3 separate regions of the Homo sapiens genome follow, and all the other regions are linked to region 1. The links are contacts of gene promoters, found by promoter capture Hi-C in human tissues and cell types (Jung and others, 2019). All regions are on one chromosome and are shown on one strand. Each heading gives the region's core, a stretch centred on a gene start or on the middle of the fragment in contact. The rest is flanking DNA. Distances are from core to core; before and after follow the strand shown.

Region 1 (4,644 bases), core at 1,507-4,006:
AAAGGATATATATATATATACATAGTTGGATTGAAAATGTATATTAGCAAACACATATTGAGTGCCAACTATGTTGTGGGGCCTGCGATTGATGAAAGGTTGCAGAGATGGTAAAAAAAATTGCATGCCCTCGCACAGCTTTCAGTCTAAAAGAGATGTGAAGAAACCTGATTTCAGAAAAATCACAGAAACAGAGGAAAAATTAAGGGACGGCAAAGTTTTTTCATGGATATTTGTCCTGGGCCATTAGTCTGGAAAGCAAACCAACTACCAGGAAAACTGATAGATTCCAGGGACAAGGTCAAATAGGGCTTCTATACCTAGGAAGGACTCTGGATAGCAGAGGCCACGTAATTACCAGTGACTAAGAAGAATATGGATTGGACTAGGAAAAACAAGAATAATCTAGTAAAGGAAGAGGACTGCAGAAATCCCGAGGACTGAGTTGACCTCTGCCCATCTAAGCTGAGTCAGAACATCAGCCACTCCTGCACAGAACCTGTCCTCACGACCTGCCCTACCTTCCTATAGCCTTGGCACATGGACAGTCTCTCCAGACAACTCACCACATTTGCATTGCCAAGGATCTTTTCTTTCTTAACAGCTTTATTGATATATAACTCAAGTACCATACATTCCACCCATTTAAAATATACAATTCAATAGCTTTTAGTGTATTCACAAAACTGTGTGTCCATCACCACAATCAACTTAAGAATATATATATATATATATATATATATATATATATATATATATTTGAGATGGAGTCTCGCTCTGTCACCCAGGCTGGAGTGCAGTGGCACGAGCTCAGCTCACTGCAACCTCCACCTCCAGGGTTCAAGCGATTCTCCTGCCTCAGCCTCCTGAGTAAGCTGGGATTACAGGCGTGTGCCACCATGCCCAGCTAATTTTTGTATTTGTAGTAGAGATGAGGTTTCACCGTGTTGGTCAGGCTGGTCTCCAACTCCTGACCTCATGATCTTCCCGCCTTGACCTCCCAAAGTGCTGGGATTACAGGGACAAGCCACCATGCCTGGCAGATTTAAGGATATTTTAATGATCCCTCCTCCATTCCCTGGAAACTATTTTTCTACTTTCTGACTATGGATTTGCCTATTCTGGACATTTCATATAAATGAATCATACCATATGTGGTCCTTTGTATCTAGCTTCTTTCACTTACTATAATATTTTCTTTATTTTTATTTTTAAATTTTTTTTAGAGACAGGGTCCTGCTCTGTCAGTGAGGCTGTAGTGCAGTGGCATGAAGATAGCTCACTGCAGCCCCAAACTCCTGGGCTCAAGTGATCCTCCTGCCTCAGCCTCCCAAGTAGCTAGGACTACAGGTGCACACCATCACACCTGGATAATTTTTTTTTTTTTTTGAGATGGAGTTTTACTCTTGTCACCCAGGCTGGAGTGCAATGGTGCAATCTCTGGTCACTGCAACCTCCGCCTCCCCGGTTCAAGCGATTCTCCAGCCTCAGCCTCCCAAGTAGCTGGGATTACAGGCGTCTGCCACCACGCCCAGCAGATTTTTGTATTTTTAGTAGAGACAGGGTTTCCCCATGTTGGCCAGGCTGGTCTCGAACTCCTGACTTCAAGTGATCCATCCACCTCGGCCTCCCAAAGTGCTGGGATTACAGGCGTGAGCCACCGTGCCTAGCCTAATTTTTTTTTTAATTAGAAAATAATTTTACTTTTTTTATTTTTTGAGACAGGGTCTCACTCTGTCACCCAGGCTGGAGTGCAGTGGTGCAATCATAACTCACTACATCCTCGACCTCCCAGGCTCAAGTGATCCTCCCACCTCAGACTCCCAAGTAACTGGGACTACAGGCACACACCACCATGCCCGGCCAATTTTTGTATTTTTTGTAGTGATAGGGGTTTTGCCATATTGCCCAGGCTGGTCTCGAACTCCTGGGCTCAAGCGATCTTCCTGTCTTAGCATCCCAAAGTGCTGAGATTACAGGTGCAGGCCACTTACTATAATATTTGTAAAGGTTCATCTATGTTATAGCATGGATCATTGCCAAGGATCTTAAAGAACCAATGTAGCAGGAGAAAAGGCCACAGCCCCAAGAAGAAGCCCTGACCCCTGGCATGGCAGAAACACACACACACACACACACACACACACACACACACACACACACACACACAGAGAGAGAGAGAGAGAGAGAGAGAGAGAGAGAGACAGCAGTTACTAAATGTAGATATATGCACAGTCTGTAAAATCTAGAAGAATAGTATGGAGGATGAATTTGGACTTGGTCACCAAATCTGGAAATGGTAGGATGAGGGATCAAGACTTAATTCATTTAACTCTCAAAATACATCTTTGCATAAGGTGCAACTGCACCCACTGGAAAATCATTTCCTCACATCAGAAATATTAAGAAGCTTAATGAAGGCAAAGATACACACCTGAGATTATAACAGGAACAGCTGCTCCCAGCCAGCCCCCAAATGCCAAACGATTGGTCTGCACTCACCTCGGCTAGGGTTGCCTTATGCCACCTCCACGGCTCAGTCTGTTCACCTGGGATTTGCTGCCACCTAGGATCTTCCACGGTAATTATCTTGACCAAAAAGCCACAGTGCATTCCACATGAGAGCAGCAGTGTTTGACAGGTGAAATGAGCCCTTCCCAACTCATGTGGATTGTTGCCTTAGCTGTGACCTCTTGTCCGACGAGCATGCACTTGTGTTGTAGACAGCTGGAAGGTACATGTTGGATTTTTACACTGCTGAGGAAGTTACAAGGTATGACATCCATTCCAGCATAGAGAGGTCTACAAATCCTCTTGCCCTAATCCTGAGTGTGTGAGGAAATCACCTTCGGTTAAGCATTGACCAGCTGCACCTCCCACACTGTCTACACAATCTGATCCAGTTGGGGAGAGAAAAGGGGCACTCTCCACTAAGCTCCTGGATGGTGCTTTATTCTCCTCTCCTGCTACCATCTTTCCTGCACCCTCTCCAGTCTTCTGCTCAGCCCAGTCTTCTGGGTGCTTCTTGATTCCAGAGAAAATGGGAAAAGAAACACTGTGTTACCTGATGGACAACAGCCATCAACCTGCTTCTTCCTCTGTCCCCTCAACCCAACGTGCACTACCACCACCACCATCCCCATCATATTTTTTTCAGAGACTGGCAGGCCAAGCGTCCCAAGGACTAAACTTCCTCTAGGGTTACTGCAGGATAGTCAAATCCTGTTGAGGGGTAGCTGGTGCATGAGAAAACTCTGGACTTGAAGCCAAGAGTCTGGGTTCAAGTCCCACCTGTGCCTTTTACCATTCTTGAGACTGGAAAAATTGCCTCCATTTTCATACTATCTGCAAATGAATCCTCATGTGACAAACAGCGGTAATGCTCTTTTCCTCCTCTTCCTCATGAGGTTGAGAAGCACAAAACGGAAAATAAGATAACTCATATGATAATCGATCATTGCCAAGGATCGTGAAGAACAAATGTATGATAATTCATATGATGTGTGAAATCATAAAACACCATATTGCTTTATTTTCTAGAACCCCTCCTATTCTGCAATACTGGAAAAGAACAAACCTTATCTTCCTTGTCCCTACTGAGATATTGATCATCCCACCCTAGAGGGAAGAATACTGTCCCTTCTGGCTCTGGAATACATCTCATCAGGCCCATGCTTCTGCCTTAATCAACTATTCTCCCCTTGGACAGCATATCTGGTTGGCTACAAAGTGTGAAGACAAAGGGAAGATGCTTCTCTACATGGGAATTTCGGTTGCCCAGGATTCCTGGAAATGAAGAAACTACTTCCTGTCCTCCACCATCTGCACTCTACAGAGGAGTCAGTAAGCTGGAAGGGATTCAGCGGGAGGACTCAGAAATACTCACATTTGCCTAAATAAGGTAGAGGGGGCTGGCCCCCAGCATATCCTGCCCACACAGCTGCCCCAGGCTTCCGTGCTGGGCGCTGAGGCTTGCGTTGCTGCAAACAGACTCTGCACTGTCAGGGCTGAAGGGGGCATACTCTAGAAGGGTCCCATGTTTGGACCCCACTTGGGAGGGTTGGGGTGGGATTGGCTCAGGTGAGAGCATGCACTTTCTGAGAAACCTCCAAACATGGGGCACTCCTCAGGGGCACATTACGAAGCTGTCCCTGAACACCAAGCCTGAGTCTGATGCCCCTGAGGCCCACTTAGGAAAGGATGCAAACCTAAACATCTACACTAACAAGAACTGGGAACAGAACACTAGCCAAGATCAACACCCCCAGGCCTATCTCAGAGAGCCTCACAGCATACAGTCCTCCATCCACCCCCTCTCCAGCCCCACTGTGACAGTTCCATCCATCCCTACCACTCCATTTACCCAGGACCCTCCTCTTCAACATCCTAATACACTGTGATCAATATGCCAAAGCTTCAGTAACCTTGCACTATGTGAAACAAAAGGTCCCACACTGCATAGCCTGGCACTCAAGACCCCCTAATCCCAGTCTCCCTTGAATTACCGCCCAGACTCAGCTCCTGTCTTACACATCACCTTGCGCATCTTTTACTTCGGTTGAGCCACTCTATTCACTGTGCCCCACGCTGGCCCTCACTTTCTTACTGCACACTCGGGCCCCAAGTGTCCTACCATTGGGACCA
Region 2 (4,644 bases), core at 1,558-4,057, 42 kb after region 1:
ACCTCATCAAAAAGTGGGCAAAGGATATGAACAGACACTTCTCAAAAGAAGACATTCATGCAGCCAACAGACACATGAAAATTAAATGCTCATCATCACTGGCCATCAGAGAAATGCAAATCAAAACCACAGTGAGATACCATCTCACACCAGTTAGAATGGCAATCACTAAAAAGTCAGGAAACAACAGGTGCTGGAGAGGATGTGGAGAAATAGGAATGCTTTTACACTGTTGGTGGGAGTGTAAACTAGTTCAACAATTGTGGAAGACAGTGTGGCGATTCCTCAGCAATCTAGAACTAGAAATACCATTTGACCCAGCTATCCCATTACTGGGTATACACCCAAAGGATTATAAATCATGCTGCTATAAAGGCACATGCACACGTATGTGTGCACTATTCACAATAGCAAAGACTTGGAACCAACCCAAATGTCCATCAATGATAGATTAGATTAAGAAAATGTGGCACATATGCACTATGCAGCCATAAAAAAGGATGAGTTCATGTCATTTTTAGGGACGTTGATGAAGCTGGAAACCATCATTCTCAGCAAACTATCACAAGGACAGAAAACCAAACACCGCATGTTCTCACTCATACATGGGAATTGAACAATAAGAACACTTGGACACAGGGTAGGGAACATCACACACTGGGGCCTGTCATGGGGTAGGGGGAGGGAGGAGGGATAACATTAGGAGATATACCTAATGTAAATGATGAGTTAACAGGTGCAGCACATGAACATGGCACATATATACATATGTAACAAACCTGCACGTTGTGCACATGTACCCTAGAACTTAACGTATAATAATTAAAAAAAAAGAAAAATGCAATTGGCATACTGAAGAATGCTTCTGTGTCTTTTAATAGCAGAATTATCAGGCAGAAGACAGAATTACTGAGCTTGAAGATAAGCTATTATAATATTTGAAAATACACAGTCAGAGGAGACAAAAGAAAAAAGAATAAAAAACGATGAAGCAGGCTGGGCATGGTGGCTCATGCCTGTAATCCCAGCACTTTGGGAGACTGAGGCGGGCAGATCACTTGAGGTTGGGATTTCAAGACCAGCCTGACCAACATGGAGAAACCCCATCTTTACTAAAAATAAAAATTAGCCAGGTGTGGTGCACATGCCTGTAATCCCAGCTACTGGGGAGGCTGAGGCAAGAGAATTACTTGAACCAAAGAGGCAGAGGTTGCAGTGAGCCAAGATCATGCCATTGCACTCCAGCCTGGGCAACAAGAGCGAAACTCCATCTCAAAAAGAAAAAAAAAAGATGAAGCACACCTACAGGATCTAGAAAATAGCCTCAAATCTCAGAGTTATTGGCCCCAAAGAAGAGGTAGAGAAAGAGATGGGGTAGAAAGTTTATTCAAAGGGATAATAACAGAGAACTTCCCAAACCTAGAGAAAGCTATCAATATCCAAGTACAAGAAGGTTATAGAACACCAAACAGATTTAGCCCAAAGAAGACTACCTCCAGGCATTTAATAATCAAATTGCCAAAGGTCAAGGACAAAGAAAGAGTCCTAAAAGGAGCAAGATAAAACAAACAAATAACATACAACAGAGCTCCAATATATCTGACAGCAGACTTCTCAGTGGAAACTTCACAGGTCAGGAGAGAGTGGCATGGCATATTTAAAGTGCAGAAGGAAAAAAATTTTTACCCTAGAATAGTATATCTGGCAAAAAATATCCTTCAAATATGAAGAAGAAATAAAGACTTTCCCCGACAAACAAAAGCTGAGGGATTTCATCAACATCAGACCTGTCTTACAAGAAATGCTAAGGGGAATATTTCAATCAGAAAGAAAATGATGTTAATAAGCAATCATCTGAAGGTACAAAACTCATTAGTAATAGTAAGTACACAGAATATTATAACTCTGTAATTGTGATGTTTAAACTACTCACATCTTAAGTAGAAAGATCTTAAGTAGAAAGATGTGAGTAGTTTAGTATTAGTAGTATTTTATGTGAAAAGATGAACTGAACAAAAAGTAATAACTTCAAGACATAGTACAAATAAGGTATGAATTAATAGTAACAACAAAAAGTTAAAACATGGGGGGACAAAGTTAAGGCATAGAGTCTTTATTAATTTTATTTTTGCTTGTTTGCTCATTTGTTAATGCAAACATTGTTAAGTTGTTATCAGCTTAAAATAATGGCTTATAAGATAGTATTTGCAAGCCCTATGGTAATCTCAAAACAAAAACCATATAACAGATACACAAAAAGAAAAAGCATGAAACTAAATTATATCACCAGAGAAAACCACCTTCACCAAAAGGAAGATAGAAAGAAAAGAAAGAAGAAAGAGAAGACCAGAAAACAAATAATAAAATGGCAAGAATAAGTCCTTATCCCCCATAATAACATTGAAGATGTTTTTCCTTTGCCGCATCTACTGAGAGAATGAAGATCATTCTCAGCAATCAGACTGTCAACATTCCAGAAAATGTTGGCATTACTCTGAAGGGATGCACAGTTACTGTGAAGGGCCCAAAGGAACCCTGAGGTGTGACTTAATCACATCAATGCAGAGCTCAGTCTTCTTGGGAAAAAAAAAAAAAAAGAGAGAGATTTACTGGCAAGATAGCCGAATAGGAACAGCTCCGGTCTGCAGCTGCCAGAGAGACTGATGCAGAAGGTGGGGGATTTCTGCATTTCCAACTTAGGTACCCGGTTCATCTCACTGGGACTGGTTGGACAGTGGGTGCAGCCCATGGAGGGCAAGCTGAAGCAGGGTGGGGAGCCATCTCACCTGGGAAGCACAACGGGTCAGGGAATTTTCTGCCCCACCCAAAGGAAGCCATGAGGCACTGAGCCTGAGGAACTCTGGTACAGACACTGTGCTTGTCCCATGGTTTTTGCAACCCGCAAACCAGGAGATTCCCTCCGGTGCCTACCCCACCAGGGCCCTGGGTTTCAAGCACAAAACTGGGCAGCCATTTGGGCAGACACCAAACTAGCTGCCGGAGTTCTTTTTTTCCATACCCCAGTGGTGCCTGGAATGCCAGCGAGACAGAGCCATTCACTCCCCTGGAAAGGGGTGCTGAAGCCAGGGAGCCAAGTGATCGAGCTTGGTGGGTCCCACCCCCACAGAGCCCAGCAAACTAAGATCCACTAGCTTGAAATTCTCACTGCCAGCACAGCAGCAGTCTGAGATCAACCTGAGACACGAGCTTGGTGGGGGGAGGGGCGTCCACCATTGCTGAGGCTTGAGTAGGTGGTTTTACACTCACAGTATAAAGAAAGCCACTGGGAAGTTCAAACTGGGCGGAGCCCACTGCAGCTCAGCAAGGCTGCTGTGGCCAGACGTCCCTTCTCTGGGCAGGGCATCTCTGAAAAAAAAGGTAGCAGCCCCAGTCAGGGACTTACAGATAAAACCCCCATCTCCCTGGGTCAGAGCACCTGGGAAAACAGGCAGCTGTGGGCACAGCTTCAGCAGACTTAAACGTCTCTGCCTGACAGCTCTGAAGAAAGCAGTGGACCTCCCAGCATAGCATTCAAGCTCTGCTAAGGGACAGACTGCCTCCTCAAGTGGGTCCCCGACCCCCATGTATCCTGACTGGGAGACACCTCCCAGTAGGGGCCAACAGACACCTCATACTGGAGAGTTCTGGCTGGCATCTAGGAGGTGCCCCTCTGGGACGAAGCTTCCAGAGGAAAGACCAGGCAGCAATCTTTGCTGTTCTGCAGCATCCTCTGGTGATACCCAGGGAAACAGGGTTGGGAGTGGACCTCCAGCAAACTCCAACAGACTGGTAGCAAAGGGGCCTGACTGTCAGAAGGAAAACTAACAAACAGGAATAGCACATCCACTCAAAGACCCCATCCAAAGGTCACCAACATCAAAGACCAAAGGTAGATAAATCCACAAAGATGGGGAGAAACAAGAACAAGAAGGTCAAAAATTCCAAAAACCAGAATGCCTCTTCTCCTCCAAAGGATCACAACTCCTCGCCAGCAAGGGAACAAAACTGGATGGAGAATGAGTTTGATGAATTGACAGAAGAAGGCTTCAGAAGGTGGGTAATAACAAACTCCTCCAAGTTAAAGGAGCATGTTCTAACCCAATGCAAGGAAGCTAAGAACCTTGAAAAAAGGTTAGATGAATTACTAACTAGAATAACCAGTGTAGAAAAGAACATAGATGACCTGATGGAGCTGAAAAACACAGCATGAGAACTTTGTGAGGCATACACAAGTTTCAATAGCTGAATCAATCAAGCAGAAGAAAGGATATCAGTGATTGAAGATCGACTTAATGAAATAAAGCTTGAAGACAAGATTAGAGAAAAAGGAAAAAAAGGAATGAACAAAGCCTCCAAGAAATACAGGACTATGTGAAAACCAAATCTGTGTTTGATTGGTGTCCTGAAAGTGATGAGGAGAATGGAACCAAGTTGGAAAACACTCTTCAGGATTATTATCCAGGAGAACTTCCCCAACCTAGCAAGACAGGCCAACATTCAAATTCAGGAAATACAGAGAACACCACAAAGATACTCCTTGAGAAGAGCAACTCCAAGACACATAATTCTCAGATTCACCAAGGTTGAAATGAAGGAAAAAATTTTAAGGGCAGCCAGAGAGAAAGGTCGGGTTATCCACAAAGG
Region 3 (4,644 bases), core at 2,145-4,644, 34 kb before region 1:
CTTTGAAAAGTTCCTATCTGGGGCTGCTTATTTACACAGCAGGCCCCACAAGCCTACCTACCTGCAGTTTGGGCACCGTGGATGGCAGGGCAGTCAGGGAGGTAATCCTCTTATGTGGAAGTGCCCTGTGACTGGCTGATACCACGAGGCCATGTTGGTGACACCCCGAGCTGCTGGGAGGTATCTCAGCAAAGGCAAGCTTACTGCCCTACTCCTTTCTAGGGCTGTCCAAGTCACTTGTTGGGAGCCCAAAGCCATGAGAAAGGCAGAGATTTGCATTCCAGCAATACTGTCTGAACATTAACCTCAAACCCCAACAGCTGTTGGGCAGTGTGTGAGCTGTCTGTCCAGCATTCCACATGAGCTCAGCTAATTGAAGAACCCTGATCAAACAGTAGTATAGAAACTCCCAGCTCAGCAGTCAAATCAGGTTCCCCTGTCTTCCTGCCGTTGGCCCTTCTCTCAGCCCCCATGGGCTCAGTGCCTGTCTCATACCCACCTGAGGCCCCACAGGCCCAGCCCTAGCCCTTTCCCCAGAACTTTCCCCATCCCAGACCTAGTTCTGTACAATGTCCTCCCAACCTAAGCCACAGAGTATATAAGTTTATAATTCATTCACATCCCAGAGGAAGCAAAGGTGACATCAGTGACAACCAGCTCCCTCACCCCCAAACACCGTCACTCAATTTTGTAACTCCCTGAGTTTTTTGACTTTGTAACCCTGACAAGCTCATGGTAACTCTTATCATTTCCTTGGAAAACATGAAATTTGACCAACATGTTTGAGGGTATCTACTTCATCTCACCTAAACTTAGGGGCTTTGTATATATTTTTATTTTCCTAATGATGTCCTAGTGAAGTAGGTATAATACTCTACATTTATAGATGAGGAAACTAAAGTATATTCTGGTTACATGACTTGCTAAGAAAACACAGCTGAGGATTTGAATTCATTTGACTCCAAATTCCATGCTTTTTCTGCCGTGCTGCAGTATCTTAAGGAAAAATTTATTTCTGATGGCCTGGGCAGAACTCAGGTTCCCTTTCATCTGTACATGTAAAAGAGAATGGAGATCTGATGGTACTAAACAGGCCAAGCCTAGGAGGCAGCAGTGTCCCCAACCTGCCCTATCTCTAGCAGAAGCTGCAGACCAGCCCCAGAAAGCTGGCTCTGCCCCAGCCTTGTGGACACCTCATGATACGGCCTCAATTCATTCTACCTGAGCAAATGACCGGGGAGTGAAATAGATTACATTGGCATTTGTTGTTTCTTGCTTAACAGAAACTGCTGCTCCCCCAGCCCTTGGAAGACTGATTTTTAATTCCAGAGTCTTCTCAGGAAGCCCTTTTTACTACTATAGTACTCACTTTTAAGCGTTCACCTCAGATGAACTTCTGACCATGTCTCTAGACCCCCAACAGGCTAAATCCCCAGTCTGTGTTTTCATAGCACTCGACCACCTTTTCATCCTTCTTGGGAAATTTTAAGTTGTTTTTTGTTTGTTTGTTTGTTTGTTTTTGAGATGGAGGTTTGCTCATTGCCCAGGCTGGAGTGCAATGGCACGATCTCGGCTCACTGCAACCTCTGCCTCCCAGGTTCAAGCGATTCTCCTGCCTCAGCCTCCCAAGTAGCTGGGATTGCTGGCATGCACCACCATGCCTGGCTAATTTTGTATTTTTAGTAGAGATGGGTTTCACCATGTTGGCCAGGCTGGTCTCGAACTCCCGACCTCAGGTGATCTGCCCGCATCAGCCTCCCAAAGTGCTGGGATTATAGGCATGAGCCTCCATGCCTGGCTGTTCGTTTGTTTTTTTGAGACAGAGTCTCGCTCTGTCACCCAGGCTAGAGTGCAGTGGCGTGATCTTGGCTCACTGCAACCTCTGTCTCCCAGGCTCAAGCAATTCTCCTACCTCAGCCTCCTGAGTAGCTGGGATTACAGAAGCGCACCACCACGCCCCGCTAATTTTTGTATTTTTAGTAGAGACAGGGTCTCACCATGTTGGCCAGGCTGGTCTTAAACCCCTGACCTCAAATGATCCGCCCGCCTCGGCCTCCCAAAGTGCTGGGATTACAGGTGTGAGCCACCGTGCCCAGCCCAAGAAATTTTAAATTAAATAACAATTAATCATATGATTAGTTACTTAATGCCTACCTCCCTAACACATGAGCTAAAGTGTGTGAGCTCCAGGAGGGACAGCATCCTGCCTTTCTTGTTCATATGTCCCCTTTCCCAGTCCAGGGCATGACAGAATATTTGTTGAGTCAATAATAACCCATTTCATTCTCAGATTCTTGGACAGTTCGTACTGCCATGGGGTTTTTCACAAGTGTTCCTCCGAACTCTTCTGTGATGGGAGGCCTCTGGAATTTTGGTCTTCCCCTAATCTTACCAATATTTAATGAGCCCAGTGTGGGGCTTTGACAGGAATACAAAGGTGACTAAGATTCTGCCTCAGTCTCTGAAGAGACCAACAAGTTGACATATTCTGCTGTGAAGTTTATTGCTGTTTTGCTTTTGACAGTGGTGAGACAGCATTCAAAGCCATGATGGAGTCCTTTGGCTGGGCCCGGCGCCCTATGCTGGAGCGAATTCACTTGATTCGAAAAGATGTGCCTATCACTATGATCTACGGGTCCGACACCTGGATAGATACCAGTACGGGAAAAAAGGTGAAGATGCAGCGGCCGGATTCCTATGTCCGAGACATGGTATGTTGCACCACCCAAGGAGTGGAAATGATGACTGAGAGTCAATCACCTCTCAGCCTTGGGGTAGAGAAGGGTGATCAAGGAGAAAGAGGAATGGACAGACTGAGATAGAGCAGTAGATTTGAGAAGTTTGGAAACTCTCTTTGGAATATCTTTTTTTTTTCGTGATGGAGTCTCGCTATTGTTGCCCAGGCTGGAGGGCAATGGTACAATCTCGGCTCACTGCAACCTCCGCCTCCCGGGTTCAAGCGATTCTTCTGCCTCAGCCTCCCGAGTAGCTGGGATTATTAGCATGCGCCACCACGCCCAGCTAATTTTGTATTTTTAGTAGAGACGAGGTTTCTCCATGTTGGTCAGGCTGGTCTCGAACTCCTGACCTCACGTGATCCGCCCACCTTGGCCTCCCAAAGTGCTCGTATTGTACTACCTTCATTAGGGGCTTCCTGCTTTTAGCCCAGTTCAGCTAAAAGGCTGGTTCTTGTCTAGCAGCCAGGCACCTGCTGCTACTCCAGCCCCCATGTAGTTTCTACCCCAAAACCAGAGCCATGGGCAGTAGAGTGAATAGTAGAGGCTGCCATGAAGCTTCCCCACCACACCTCCTCCCCTTTTTTCTTACCCCTCTCCGCCATGTGCCAATGAGTGTGCTTAATGAGGCTGGGTGCCAACCATGGGCCCAGGTTTACTGGACCTTTGGATTAAATGAGCAGATCAGTGGTGGGGCTAACACAGAAGGAAAGACACAGTGAATGTTTATCAAGTAAGTAGAATGGGAAAGCATTGGCTGTCAAAGGAAAATACCAAGATCCAAGCGAGAAAGGTGGAGCATTATCTCTGATAAGAGCTCGTGGGTGGCAGGCAAGCAAGTCTAAGGGGAAAAGAAATAGCGTGAAGGCTTCCCAGCACCAGGAATAAAAGGCCATCCCACCCCTGCGGGTTCTCTCTCCACAGGAGATTAAGGGTGCCTCCCACCATGTCTATGCTGACCAGCCACACATCTTCAATGCTGTGGTGGAGGAGATCTGCGACTCAGTTGATTGAGCTGCTCTCTGAAGAGGAAGAGGAGAAAGCCAGAGAGTCACTCTTACCTCCCTGTCTGCTTACTCACCCACTCTGTCCTTTCCTCACCAACTAACATGTGCCAGCCAGGCAGAGTCTTGTGCTGTTCCCAGAACAGGACGACAGTGAAAAGAACACTCTTGACCCTACACTGAAGGCTGAAGGCAGAAGCCACAAGAGGCCTTGAGTGCCACCCCCAGGGAAGAACATAAAGGGTTGCACAATGCCACCCATCCACTCCTTGCCAAGTGTTACCCAGATGGTGGAGGATGTGAAGGGATTGCACCAAGCCACATTCACTCTCTCTGTGGCCTTTCTTCCTCTGGGCAAAGAAGGGCTTCCAGTGGCCTTTCCTCACTCTGTAGTGTTTGTGGGGATAGGTTCCATGCAAGAACACCTTCCTCCTCCATCCCCCACTTCACCCCATCCCATACCAGTTCCATCCAGGGTCTGCTTAACTGCCAAGAGCAGGTCCTGGAGTTCCCTTCACCTGCAGAGTCCTTTTCATGACCTAGGAGGTCTTATTCAAAGCCCTCATTGACAGAGGAGGAAACAGGCCAAGGCAGGACATGGCTGGACCATGGTGATACAGCTCTGTGTGATTCAAGTTCTGGCAGAGCTTGTAAGGCTAGAGCCCAGGTCTGCCGACACCCTGTGCTTGTTGCACACTTGATTTGCTAAGGCTGGAGACAGGCACCATTGCCATGGGGCTGGTCCTAGTCACTGGCCGAGGATAAGCCCGTCCCTGTCCCACATTCTAGCCCCACTATGCGGGGGTGCTGTTGTCCTGCCTGTGTCTCATCCCCGGCTGCCTAAGCTAGGGACACTCAAGTGCTTCCTTCCTTGCCCCATCTTCCTCCCAACTGGAGGCCTCTGA

Evidence for each region. The method cuts DNA at HindIII sites, captures the fragments that hold promoters and counts their contacts. A contact is called where the count stands out against the background at its distance.
Region 2: a fragment that was not itself captured here is called in contact with the fragment with the promoter of OR6J1 in region 1 in 2 of the 25 tissues and cell types used here (mesenchymal stem cells and spleen).
Region 3: a contact is called between a fragment that was not itself captured here and the fragment with the promoter of OR6J1 in region 1, in 2 of the 25 tissues and cell types used here (neural progenitor cells and spleen).

The regions. Positions count from the first base shown.
Region 1 is chr14:22,641,596-22,646,239 of GRCh38, forward strand. It overlaps OR6J1 (olfactory receptor family 6 subfamily J member 1), which reads right to left and starts at 2,757. Exons shown (of 2, transcript NM_001348233.2): 1 at 2,503-2,757. The HindIII fragment of the contact is 14,040 bases long and covers 1-3,412 here.
Region 2 is chr14:22,683,118-22,687,761 of GRCh38, forward strand. No RefSeq gene overlaps it. Among named protein-coding and RNA genes, the nearest start is that of OR6J1, 41 kb to the left of the region's middle. The HindIII fragment of the contact is 3,462 bases long and covers 1,077-4,538 here.
Region 3 is chr14:22,607,200-22,611,843 of GRCh38, forward strand. ABHD4 (abhydrolase domain containing 4, N-acyl phospholipase B) reads left to right here. Exons shown (of 7, transcript NM_022060.3): 6 at 2,525-2,711; 7 at 3,660-4,644. The coding sequence ends at 3,749. Among named protein-coding and RNA genes, the nearest start is that of ABHD4, 11 kb to the left of the region's middle. The HindIII fragment of the contact is 9,196 bases long and covers 1-4,644 here.